2 separate regions of the Homo sapiens genome follow, and region 2 is linked to region 1. The links are contacts of gene promoters, found by promoter capture Hi-C in blood cells and fetal thymus (Javierre and others, 2016). All regions are on one chromosome and are shown on one strand. The core of a region is centred on a gene start or on the middle of the fragment in contact, and the rest is flanking DNA. Distances in the headings are between cores, read along the strand shown. Region 1 holds the start of JAKMIP2 (janus kinase and microtubule interacting protein 2). Region 2 overlaps JAKMIP2 (janus kinase and microtubule interacting protein 2).

Region 1 (5,738 bases), core at 2,313-4,812:
TTGTAGCAGGCACATAAAATCAAAATATGTTCTGATGTCACTTGAAATAAGAAACATCCTATTACAAAGTGAGAAATTAATTAGTGTGTCTTAATTAAAACAAGTTTTACTAAAGACTTACATACCAATCAAAATATTTAACTTTAATATTCTAACATGAATGACATTTTTAAGATAGCATTTGAGTGGAAGATTAGTTTGTTAAACAGCACATTTAAACATTAATTTGTATATACCTTTCATATAATTTGTTTTTTTAAAAAAAACAACTTGATGGCCCTTGAATTACTTTGTACAAAGACCCCATTAAATAACACAGTACATTTTTCAAAATTAACTATACAATATGAAATAATTTTAATATAGGTATTTGACATCATACTCCATAAAGCTGCTGAGAAAGAAGGGCTCTTATGAACAGGTAAATGTTCAGTTTCCTGAATTCTGGCAGGATTACATGTAAATTTCTCTAAGAAGATGATCAGCTGATTTCTTTACAAATACCTAGAACCTGTAATTTAGAAGTCAACTACAAAATGGAGTCTTACTGTTATAACCTAGAAGTGTCTTATCTTAAACAACTAATGTACTCTCTCAAATAAATGACTCACTCTAGAAAAAGCAAGAGAAGTTCTTGAGAAGGAAATCTAGTACATCCTAGACAAATGCATATCTAGGTCATACTTTTGGAGGTTTTGATGAGAGAAGAATTCATTGCTTTATCTGATTAGCCAGTTGACTACTCACACTTACTATGAGGAACTTCTACATTTGCATATTTCTCATCTTCATAATTCCTCATAAAGTTGAAGCCCATTGACTACATTTGAGGTTCCAAAAAATAGCAATAAGCAATGTCCTGTGCTTATGCCCCATGCTTAGCTTATCTGAAACAAACGATTGCCATATTTCATTTTTCTCTTCTCTAAATGAAATGATCCTAGCTTTTAAAAATCTTTCCTCAGAGAGTTCAACTTCTAGTGCTTGAAACACACTTCACTTTTCTATGGCCCCTTAGCAAAGGCCATATAATTGTCTTAAATAGTGGGGTCAAAAGCTAGACCTGTATTTCTATCAGGGTAATAGCTGACACATAGCTGAAACAGGCTATCTACAAGGAGTTTTAAGCACATGGCCTAAGGGATTTGCCTCTGTTCAAACTGTACCAACTTTGCCTATAAAACCACCTCCAAATGAAAACTCAAAAAAAAGAAACAAAAACAAAGCCCCAGGATATCTGCTTTCATTGCATGAAATGGGGTCAACTAGTACAAATCTTAATTTTTTAAGTGTGCTATAGGCATATCTAACATTTTAATTTTTGGAAGTCAAGTGTTATCACTAAAAGATTCAGGATGCAATGTGTTATACAATTTGTTATAACATACAAGCCCAGTACCTCTTTCCTTGCCCTACTTCATATAGTTGTTAAAATTAGGCACAAAGTAGCATGAGTTTACAAAGCTATGGATCTATAATATATAACATGCTATGAGCACATGCACAATTGAGTCACCAAGGGCCCTTCTCATGTATAAACCAAATAGAACAATTATTCTCAGCAAAATTAAACTATAAACCTGGTTCAAATACATGTGAAAATTATAAATGTGGGGGGTGTATGTAGAATCAGATGCAAGACTAAAGACCCAAACAATTGTTATTTTACATTGTAAAAAATGTCTGTACTGACAATGATATTGTTAGAGAAGAGAATAATGGATAAAACTATAATAGCCCATGTGGTAAATGTAATATTACTAATACACTTTACCTACATAATTTTTTCTGGCTTTAATTCAATGAAATCCATTATCCTGGGCGGGAATGGAACCTCCTCATCTCACGCATCTTTAGTCTCCTGAACTGCCTTAAAGCCTTGACATAATAAAAGGTCAAGCAGATCCCAGTAAGCATTTGTAAATTACAATAGACCCCCATTTCAGCTACAAGCCACACATTCTCCTGCTCGCTTTGCTCACTCTCTGGTTTCATTTCATTGTATAAGCAGACTAATTTGGAAACGGCTGGGCTAGGGTGCTTGGGAATACCTAGATTTTCAAAACAATCCTACTTTCCTACTTAATTATTTACAGAAGGAGACCCTTAATACAACATCTGAGAGAACTGTGAAATGGTTCCTGGATACTGAAGGAATGAACATCAGATAGCAGCACTATTAAATAAAATGAATACATTTCACCTTCCAGCTTAGCTGTGCTTCCTGGGACACAAGGCACAAACATGAAAAGGTTGGGGTGGCATTTCAAGAAAACTGATTTGCTTCAACATTGATTTGGTAAGATGCTAGACACAAAATAATACCACAAACCGCCTCCCATTCCCATCATTGTAAATTCAGAGTCCTCAATATCATCCCCCACAAACCCAATTAAAAATAAAGAGGCAGGCTACAAATTTGCATCTAGTTCTATGACACAGATCAAACGATAGGCATCTGTTCCAATCGGTCACAATGAAACTAAGGGACAATAACCAGAGTAAATTTCACATTAATCCAAATAAAGCCAATGAATAATAATATAAACCAGAAGCATAGTTTCAAAAACATGCAATTACTTCCAGGCATGCAAGGACATATGTAACCCATAAAAATGGTTGCAAAGCACACCCTACATATAAATATGCTTCATAAATGCAATATAAATGCTAAGTGACATGTGTATATATGATCTGTATATCCATAAGATATACATGTGTAAGTTCACAGTCAAATCTACGTATAAAATAAAACTGGGTCTTGCAAATGATTTCTCAACAAGAGTATATTAGAATATAAAATAAAATGTCAAATTCTGGGGCCACTTTTTCTAAGCAATCAATAAAATAAGCAAAACCACCTTATAATGAGTCTGGTAAGCTTATGAGACACCAAATGTATTTCTGAAGAAGGCCCAACCCTGTATGTGAGAGCTGCAAATGAAATGATTCCTTTCAATAACACCCTCTTCTTGTTGTTAGCTCTTTTTCCAACCCCTGATGCTGTTGCTAAGCTTAGGAAAAAAGGCACCAAGTGGCTCAGTCTGCATTCTGAGCCAGTTAGAGATAAAATCAGAACACCATTTTTTTTTTTTAAACACAAGAGGTTGTCTTCTCACTTCTCTCTTCCTGGCAAGCTTCCTCTCCCTCCATCCTCATCTCTGTCTCCACATCTCCCCCTTCTAGTCTGAGGCACGGGAGTCATTGTTCAAGTTCAGGCCAGAAATGTATACACAGGTCAAATAAGAACACTCTAAACCAAGAAGGGAGCCCTACTGTTTCCTACTCACCATGCTGAGACCCGGAGAAGCTGTTTAAAGGAGGGAGAGATGCAAACTGAATCCATTTTCCTTGTGACCGAGTCGGATGCAGCCTCCGAACCCAACATCAGCAGTGGCTGCCGGTTTTTTTTTTCCCTCTGTCTCTGGTTGGCGATGGTGCGAATAGGAACCACCCTTCCAGCCCCACTAGAGTATCAGCAATAGAGGCGGCGGCGGCGGCAGCAGCAGCAGCAGCAGCATCACCAGTTGGGCCTCCTCCCTCTCGGAGGATGGGGTGAGCTCGGAAGCAGCCAGGAACTTGCAGCAGACACCTCCTCTGGCTCCTCCTCTCTCTCTCCCCCTCCCCCAGTGCCCCACCCCTGCTGCGGTAGAGGCTGCTGGCCCGGCAGCTGCTGGTTGCCATGGCAATGACCAATGATAAGCGACCAAGCTCAGGGGGAGGGGAGATGGGCGAAGCAAGCTGCAGGGTCTGGAGGGGAGTGAATTTGTGCTGCTGCCCTCTAGGATGCTCTTGATGTCTCCTACCCTGAACTCCAGGTCTTTTTAAAAATGGGGCAAGGGGGGCTAGGCACGGGGAGAGAATAATTAAAATTTAATTGAAATCTAGATAGAAACATACCAACGGCTTAGCTATTTTTTGCATTTTCTGTGGTTTTCCAATAAAAAGTATGAAATTTATTATCAGAAAAATAACAACAAATGTGGAGAAAATTATGTCGCATAATAGCAGATTATTATTACTTCCAAACGTGTTCGTCCTTTATAGCATCTTTTACTCAATACCAGGCAACAAGGTTTTTAGAAAGCAAACGGAGTGGCTGGACTTTGTAATAAATTAAGAGTCTGGTTGATTCCTTTGCACTACTCCCGGCTTGTTCTCAGGTGAGTTACTTGGTTTCACTGTTTTTCCAGCTACCCTTCTGAACAGGACTTGGAGGTAATTGACACATCCCTGAGGAAAAGTAAGTTTGGATAGAGACCGAAATTCCTTTCAACAACCACTATTCTCGGTAGCACAAGTTGGTGGACAGTTCCCAATCTTTTTAGTGTCAAACTCCTGGAGCATTCAATTTCCTGCAGGCAATTCCTGTCGTTTTCATGGATGCCTTTTTGGAGTTCCGAAGTCAGTTGGCAGTCAGGGTGGTGGGCAGGAAAAGGGGGAAGTGAAATCAGCAATGTCCAGTTCTAGGCGAGTTCTGTTTCTAACTATAAATTATAGATGACACCAGTATTTATCTCGTGGAGGGGTTGTAAAGATTGAATGAGATAATGCACTAAAAGCACTTGGCATATAGTAAGTGTACAATAAATATTTACTATTAGCAGCATAGTAGTACATTGCAGCCATCTCTTAATCTAAGGGTTTAAGGGGAATAACATGGCAATTTCAGGTAGGAGAAAAAATTAAGATGAGAAAATCCAAAGTACGTAATAACCATGATGATGATGGCAAAGACAGAGAGGCCCTAAGAGATTAAGTGTTCTCTACATCTTGATATTTGAGGACATTGTAAATCTCAGAGGAGTTAGATACATTTCCCAAATTCACAACTGATAAACGACAGAACCGGAATCAAAATGGACTCTTCTAACACTTACATTTGCTCTCCTAACCACCACACTTTTCTGCCACTCCTCCATAAAATGGAAATAATCTTTGTTCTTAATCCACAGAGTTATTTACAGGTTCAAATGGGTTTAACACAAGTTCCAGAGTCAGACGATCTAGGCTCCATTCCTAGCGCCAGTATTTACTATAGGTATAATCTGGAACATATTTATTAACTTCCTCAAATCTATGTTTCTTCATCTGTAAAAAGAAATAATCACAGAACCTCATGAGTCATTACAAAAATTAAACTAGATGACGTGTGTAAAATGTACGGTCTTTAGCAGATAGGAAATGTTCAATAAATGTAGCTACAGTTACTTGTTACTCATTTGTAAGTAACTAATATTAAAACATGAGAAGACTTTTTCCTGCATGGTGTCACTCTTAATGTCAGGGGCTTCTTCTAATAAAACTGGCTTGAAGATAACTAGGTGATGAGGAAAGAGTTGCAGCAGTTCCCCAGCACGTGACACTGGCTTTCCATCCACTTGGTGGGAAAGCCTGCAACCTCCTTTGTGCAGCTAGTGTCCCCTGCCTTCTGTCAAAGTCTCAGCAGCCACACAACCTGCACACACTTCCAAGTCAGCATCACCTATGTGTAATGTGTAACATAAAGGAATGGGATGTGATCATCTCGCTTCTTTTTGTATTCCTGTATTTTATCTTCTGCTTTCTCTGCAGAGATGTTCTTGTAAGTAAGCAGACCAGGAAGCTGCAGGCTGTAGAAGTTATGACACACTAGATGACAGAACCCTCCACACTGTCCTCGGGACAGCATTTCATCCTTAGCGCTAGGAGCCAAATGTCTAGGGGTGGGTGATTCTAGTTTTTCCTCTCCTCCCATC
Region 2 (5,738 bases), core at 1,545-4,044, 140 kb before region 1:
ATTGACTCTATGTTCAGATAACCAAAATTAATTATATCTATTCAAGCCTAAGCCATGTTTTTGTTTCTTAATTTGTTGAGTAATTTCCAGGAATACTGTTTTATGTTTTAAAAACAGTATTCATCTAAAAAAAATCTTTCATTAAAAAAAAAAGAAAGACTCAAGCTTAATAAAAAGACTAAAAGTGGGAATCTAAGCCTATGCTAGGTTTCGGCATGGTCTTGGAGTCATACTCTGTCACTTCTTCTCACAAAATAACAAGTTCTATTCATAGAGGTTTCTTTGTTTTGTTTTGTTTTGTTTTTTGGAGATGGGGTTTTGCTCTTGTTGCCCGGGCTGGAGTGCAATTGCGCAATCTCAGCTCACTGCAACCTCCGCCTCTTGGGTTCAGATGATTCTCCTGTCTCAGCCTCCTAAGTATCTGGGATTACAGGCATGTGCCACCACATCTGCCTAATTTTTTGTATTTAGCAGAGACAGGGTTTCACCATGTTGGCCAGGCTGGTCTCAAACTCCTGACCTCAGGTGATCCACCCACCTCGGCCTCCCAAATTACTGGGATTACAGGCTTGAGCCACTGTGCCTGGCCCTCATAGAGGTTTTGTTGTAGATAAACAACTACACAGGATGTGCACGTGTGTGTGTGCGTGTATGTATATATATATGTACAGTATATATACAGTGTATATGGTTAGCAAATCAGGAGGTTTCAGGGATCACATCCTTTCAAGTCTGCACAATGCCCAGCGCAGAGCCATGCACACGTGCCACTTCACTGATGGTGATGGCGGTGACAGGGATGCGGTTGAGCACGCAGCCGAGGACAGAGCAGTGCCGGAAAAGCCTCCCCTTCCCCTGGCCCCTGTGCCACTCCTGAGAGCACCCCCTGCTGCTCCTGGATCTCTCATGATTTTCTCCTCTGCCCCGCTAGGGTGTTGTGCCCAACATACCTTTTCTAAAAGCTCCTGGTTTCTCTTAATGAAAAGTTGTTTATCTTCTACCCAGTGTGAATCCTGTTTGACAAAGAATATCGCGCAGTCAGCATTTCAGAGTGGCACGAAAGAGCCTGTGTTGTCAAACCACTTTGCCAGAGCTGCCTTCTCCCCACCCTGTTTGTTTGCCTGCCAAAGACTGGTAAGTAGCACCCACCCCTGCCAGCTCCTTCAAAGAAATTGGGGCCAAAGTTGCCGGGAAAATTTAACCCCCTTTTCATCATCACTCCCTATTTCTACCTTTTCCAGTTTGAATAATCCAGGACCAGCCTTCTGGGGACTCAGAAGTGACCACACAGGCAAAAAGTGAAAAGGGTCAGAATGCACACAGGCTAGATACATATGGATGGAAAACATTAAAATGCAGAACCATAAATGTAGCATAGAGGCAAAGAACGCAGCTGGAGGGGTGGGTCTTGGTCTTAGCAGCTTATGACAACTCTAGGCTATTTGTACAGGGTTCCTCTTCCTCTGGCATTCTCTCTCTTGCCCAAGCTCATTCACTGTTGTGGCTGGGTTCATACTCTGGCCAGAAAAACACCAGAGACAGAAGTACAGAGTTGAACATTCTAACGCAGTTCGAGAAAGATCACTGTGGAGAGCCAAGCTGTGTCCTGGGTGCGGCCCATGCACAGGTGAGCTACAGGAAGGTCAGATTGAATTGTCTGCATCTGCAGAAGAGCTAGCAACCAAATGCCTACCTGCCCTTTCTGAGCCAGAGTCGCTTCCAGGTCTTCAATTTTGGCTTTATACCTTAGCACCTCTGCTTGGAGCTGTTCTTGAGCCTGGTGAAACCAAAATTCCAGAACTCAGCAAGTAAAATGGTTATTCAATACCTTTCTTGACTAGAACTCAACAAGTAAGAGAGAGAGAGAGGAAAAAAAGAAGAATTTTCTATGACAAAAGAATCTTTCTGATCTAAATTCTTGTTTAAAACTCCCTGTAGCATTCTTTATTTTCAGGTTAGTATTCAAACTCGTTAGCTTGGCATTCGAGAACTCCCATTATATTTCCAATCTTTTCCTACTACTCATCAGCCTAGAGCCAAACCCTCACCTGCTGGCATAATTCTTGTTTCCTAAATATGCCTTGTAACTCTCCACTCTTCTCTTTATTTGAATGATTTCTCTTTCATGAAAGCCTTGTTCCATTTTGCCTCCCCAAATTCTTTTGATTTTTTTTTTTTTTTTTTTTGAGACAGAGTCTCACTCTGTTGCCCAGGCTGGAATGCAGTGGCACAATCTCAGCTTACTGCAACCTCCGCCTCCTGGGTTCAAGCAATTCTCCCGCTTCAGCCTCCCAAATAGCTTGGATTACAGGCACCGGCCACCACGCCCAGCTAATTTTTGTATTTTTAGTAGAGATGGGGTTTCACCGTGTTGGCCTGGCTGGTCTCGAACTCCTGACCTCAGATGATCCACCCGTCTCCGCCTCCCAAAGTGCACCCGGCCTTTCCATTCTTTCAGAGCAAACTTTGTGCCTAAATTTAAGTCCCTAAATCAATTTCTCTCTGTCTTTCTCTTTATATATCATATTTTGTGTGTCTGTGTGTGTAAGTAGTTTTGAATACTAATCTTGTATGGAGCAACTTTGTTGTCCTATGTGATTTAGCTTAGTAATTTGTTTCCTGCCTGTAAACCCATTTTTTTGTTGTTGTTTTACAATCTGGATAGGTTTTTTAGTACAAAGTTGAATAAAAACAGCGATGAAAGATATCCTTATTCATTGTGAGGAGAATAATTCTTTTGATTGTTAAATATTACATTTACCTCTATCAGGTCCAAAAAATAATTAATTTTGCTAAGATTTATTTTAACTGTGAATTGATGTTGACTGTAACCTATTTTTTCTTGTACCTAATTTTATCTTTTGTTTTCAACGATGCTTTCATCTGTATTATTTTTTAATTTCTAGTCTCTTTAAATTTACTCTGTTGTTCTTTTTCTAACATCTTTATTTCTTGTAGATTATTTTTCTAAGAATGGTAAGTTTTCCTGACTTTAATGGTCAGAGAGAACGCTAAACCTTTATTTAGGTAGAAGAATTAAATGACACAGGGAGGAATCTCCAAAAAGTAAAAGAAGTCTCCTTTTTTTGGAGGAATCTCCAAAAAATAAAAATAAAATAATATGCTATTATTTTAATTCCCCAATCCATGTTGGTAAGAACACTTAACCACAAATATTATAGCACTGGGGCATATATATGACAGCCTACAGGCACATTCCTTTGTAATGATTGCTTGCCTGTTCTAAATTGGTGTTTTTTAAAAACCTGCTTATTTACTTATATATGTGTGTGTGCATGCTACTGTTGAAAAATGTATAACTGCGTTACATCTACCCTTTCCCACTGAACAATAGTAGTTCTACAAAACTCCTCAGTGCATTGTAGACCCTCCAGAAAGAAAGTAGGATGAAATCACTGGGTGGTCTCGGTGGTCATGCTGCCTTTTGGCTCATGTAAATTTACCTAGGAGGCAATTATAGCCTGGTGATTATGACTGTGAAGTCACAAGGCTAGGAAACCTAGGTAAACCTAGGTAAATAATTTAACTTCACTAAACTACATTTAACTTCTACTAAGCTATTATTTCCTCTTCTATAGAAAGAAGATAATAATCATATCTAGCTCCTAGGGTTGTTTTAGGATTATATAGATAATGTGTGTAAAATGTTCAACACAATGCCTGGAACACAGCAAGCACTCAATAAATATTAAGAATTAGTATAGTACATGTCTATCTTTTCTTTTTGTTGAAATAGGCTCATGAGAGGCAGTTATGATATAAAGGAAAGAACATTTGACCCAGTAAGACTTAAGTTGTAATATCAGCTTTGCCATTTACTATTTGTGCTATTTGGGGCAATTCAATTAACCTCTCTGAGTGTCAAATTTCTCTTTTATAAAATATCTGCCTTAGGGGACTGTCTCAAGGGTTAAATGAGATAGTGTCTGTGAAAATTCTGGTAAGTTGTCATACGTAAACGCTGGGCACTTATTAACGAAGAGAAGACACTGGCTCACTATTGCTTTTGAAAGATAAAAAAGTTCTTTTTCTAAGCAAGAAACTAAAAAATGGCTTAACAAAATCCAATATTGTCTAGCTTTGAAAATGTATGTTTTCAAACAGCAAGAACAAGAACTATGTACTCAACTATCTTTAAAAGAACAAAAGCATTGATCTAAGCTGGTTCTAATGTTTCTAGAGTCAAGGTTTGTTGACATAAAAGCTATAACAATTCAAAAGCTGCAGAGGAGAGAAGAATACAGGGAAAGCTGTCTTATTGATATTTTTATGTCCACAGTGCTTTTATGCTGTGACTGCTGCACGCTAATTCAGAGCACTCTCACAGATACACACTAACCTTGGCTTCTCGTTCAGCGTCGATGATGCCTCCCGTCTGCTCCTGTAGGAGGGCATATGCTCTTTGGAGGGCCTGATATTCTTTTGTTAATTGTCGAAATCTTAGTTCAGATTCTTCAGCTGCTAAACTCTTGAGGTTAAGAAAAAAAGCCCCAAAACAATTGTGTTATGTTCAGGTCCTGTTTTCAATGTGAAATATTAACATTTGCCCACTTTTTACAAGAAGTAAAAGGTTGTTTAACAGTCTATTTGATTTTATTTTTAGCTCTGAAGTGTATATACGGGCACAAATACTGTAATACTTTCAAGATGGACACTGCAGAAATACATAAATATTTATTTTAGTAAAAGAAGCATTTAGCATTTGATACATTTCTCATTGTTAATCATTTGAGCTTAGAATGTAGTCAATTTTGGATCCAAATAAGAAAAAGTCATATCCAGATTTTGGACCTAAATTTGAGGAAATGATACCCTAGAATTTTCTTATTTCTTTTCAGTATGTTCATCTCCAGCAACTTGTTTTTTCCCCCAGATAAATCATAAAATCTGTTTTATTGCATTACATCTTAAACTTCAGGACATAACATAATCAGCAGGGAATTTTGGGAAACAATGCAGACTGGGGTGTTTCACTCCTAAGATCCTGAGTCAGGAGTTGCATGGTAGAGTCCAGGACTTTTCATTGTAACTGAGCCCTCTAGATCATTCTGATGAGGATGGTCCACAGAACACACTTCACTCAACAGTGTCAGACCACATCCAAAAGCCTGCTAAGGCCTCTTGGGTTCCTACCTTCCCTAGATAAAGAATATTGGAAAGTAACTTTTATTTTGAAAGAAGTCTTCAAATTAGAGAGTTGAACTGGAGAGAAATTTCTAAAAGGTTTACCTGCTATAAGTGAAGCTATTTTTCAAGAGATAATAAAGTGCAGCCTCAAAATTGTTTACTATTATGAGATCACTTTGTGCTGTTTATATAAAGGAGATGAAAAGTGAAATCCTTTTTCTTCCCCCTTAAATCAAAGATTTGGTGACAATATCACCCTAGGCTAGAGAAGTAGAAAAGCTTACTTCATCCAAGTCATCATCAGGAGTAGCTGGTGTTCTGTCTGTTCTAAATGAGGCCATGGATGATGTCTCTGAATCCATAGAGTCCTCATCATAGCCAATAAACGGGTCCAAAACAGGCCTCTAAATGGAGGGAAAGTACCTATTTACTGACATAGCTAACAGTAGGGAAAGTTGAACGTTAAAATACTGTCAACTGGCATACGTGTAAGTGAATATAGAAGACATGGATCCTCTATGCTTCTTTGTTGAAATAAAAACATTAGGCATGAGCATAATTCCAATAAGTGTTTCTCTCATATTATTTCA

What was found. The method cuts DNA at HindIII sites, captures the fragments that hold promoters and counts their contacts. A CHiCAGO score of 5 or more calls a contact.
Region 2: a fragment that was not itself captured here is called in contact with the fragment with the promoter of JAKMIP2 in region 1 in 5 of 17 cell types (megakaryocytes, fetal thymus, naive B cells and 2 more); the score reaches 7.3 in megakaryocytes.

The regions. Positions count from the first base shown.
Region 1 is chr5:147,779,166-147,784,903 of GRCh38, forward strand. JAKMIP2 (janus kinase and microtubule interacting protein 2) reads right to left here and starts at 3,563. Exons shown (of 22, transcript NM_001270941.2): 1 at 3,291-3,563. The HindIII fragment of the contact is 4,284 bases long and covers 3,136-5,738 here.
Region 2 is chr5:147,635,272-147,641,009 of GRCh38, forward strand. JAKMIP2 (janus kinase and microtubule interacting protein 2) reads right to left here. Exons shown (of 22, transcript NM_001270941.2): 9 at 5,433-5,552; 10 at 4,361-4,489; 11 at 1,694-1,777; 12 at 951-1,013. All of the region lies in intron 3 of JAKMIP2-AS1 (JAKMIP2 antisense RNA 1), which reads left to right. Among named protein-coding and RNA genes, the nearest start is that of JAKMIP2-AS1, 78 kb to the left of the region's middle. The HindIII fragment of the contact is 5,262 bases long and covers 164-5,425 here.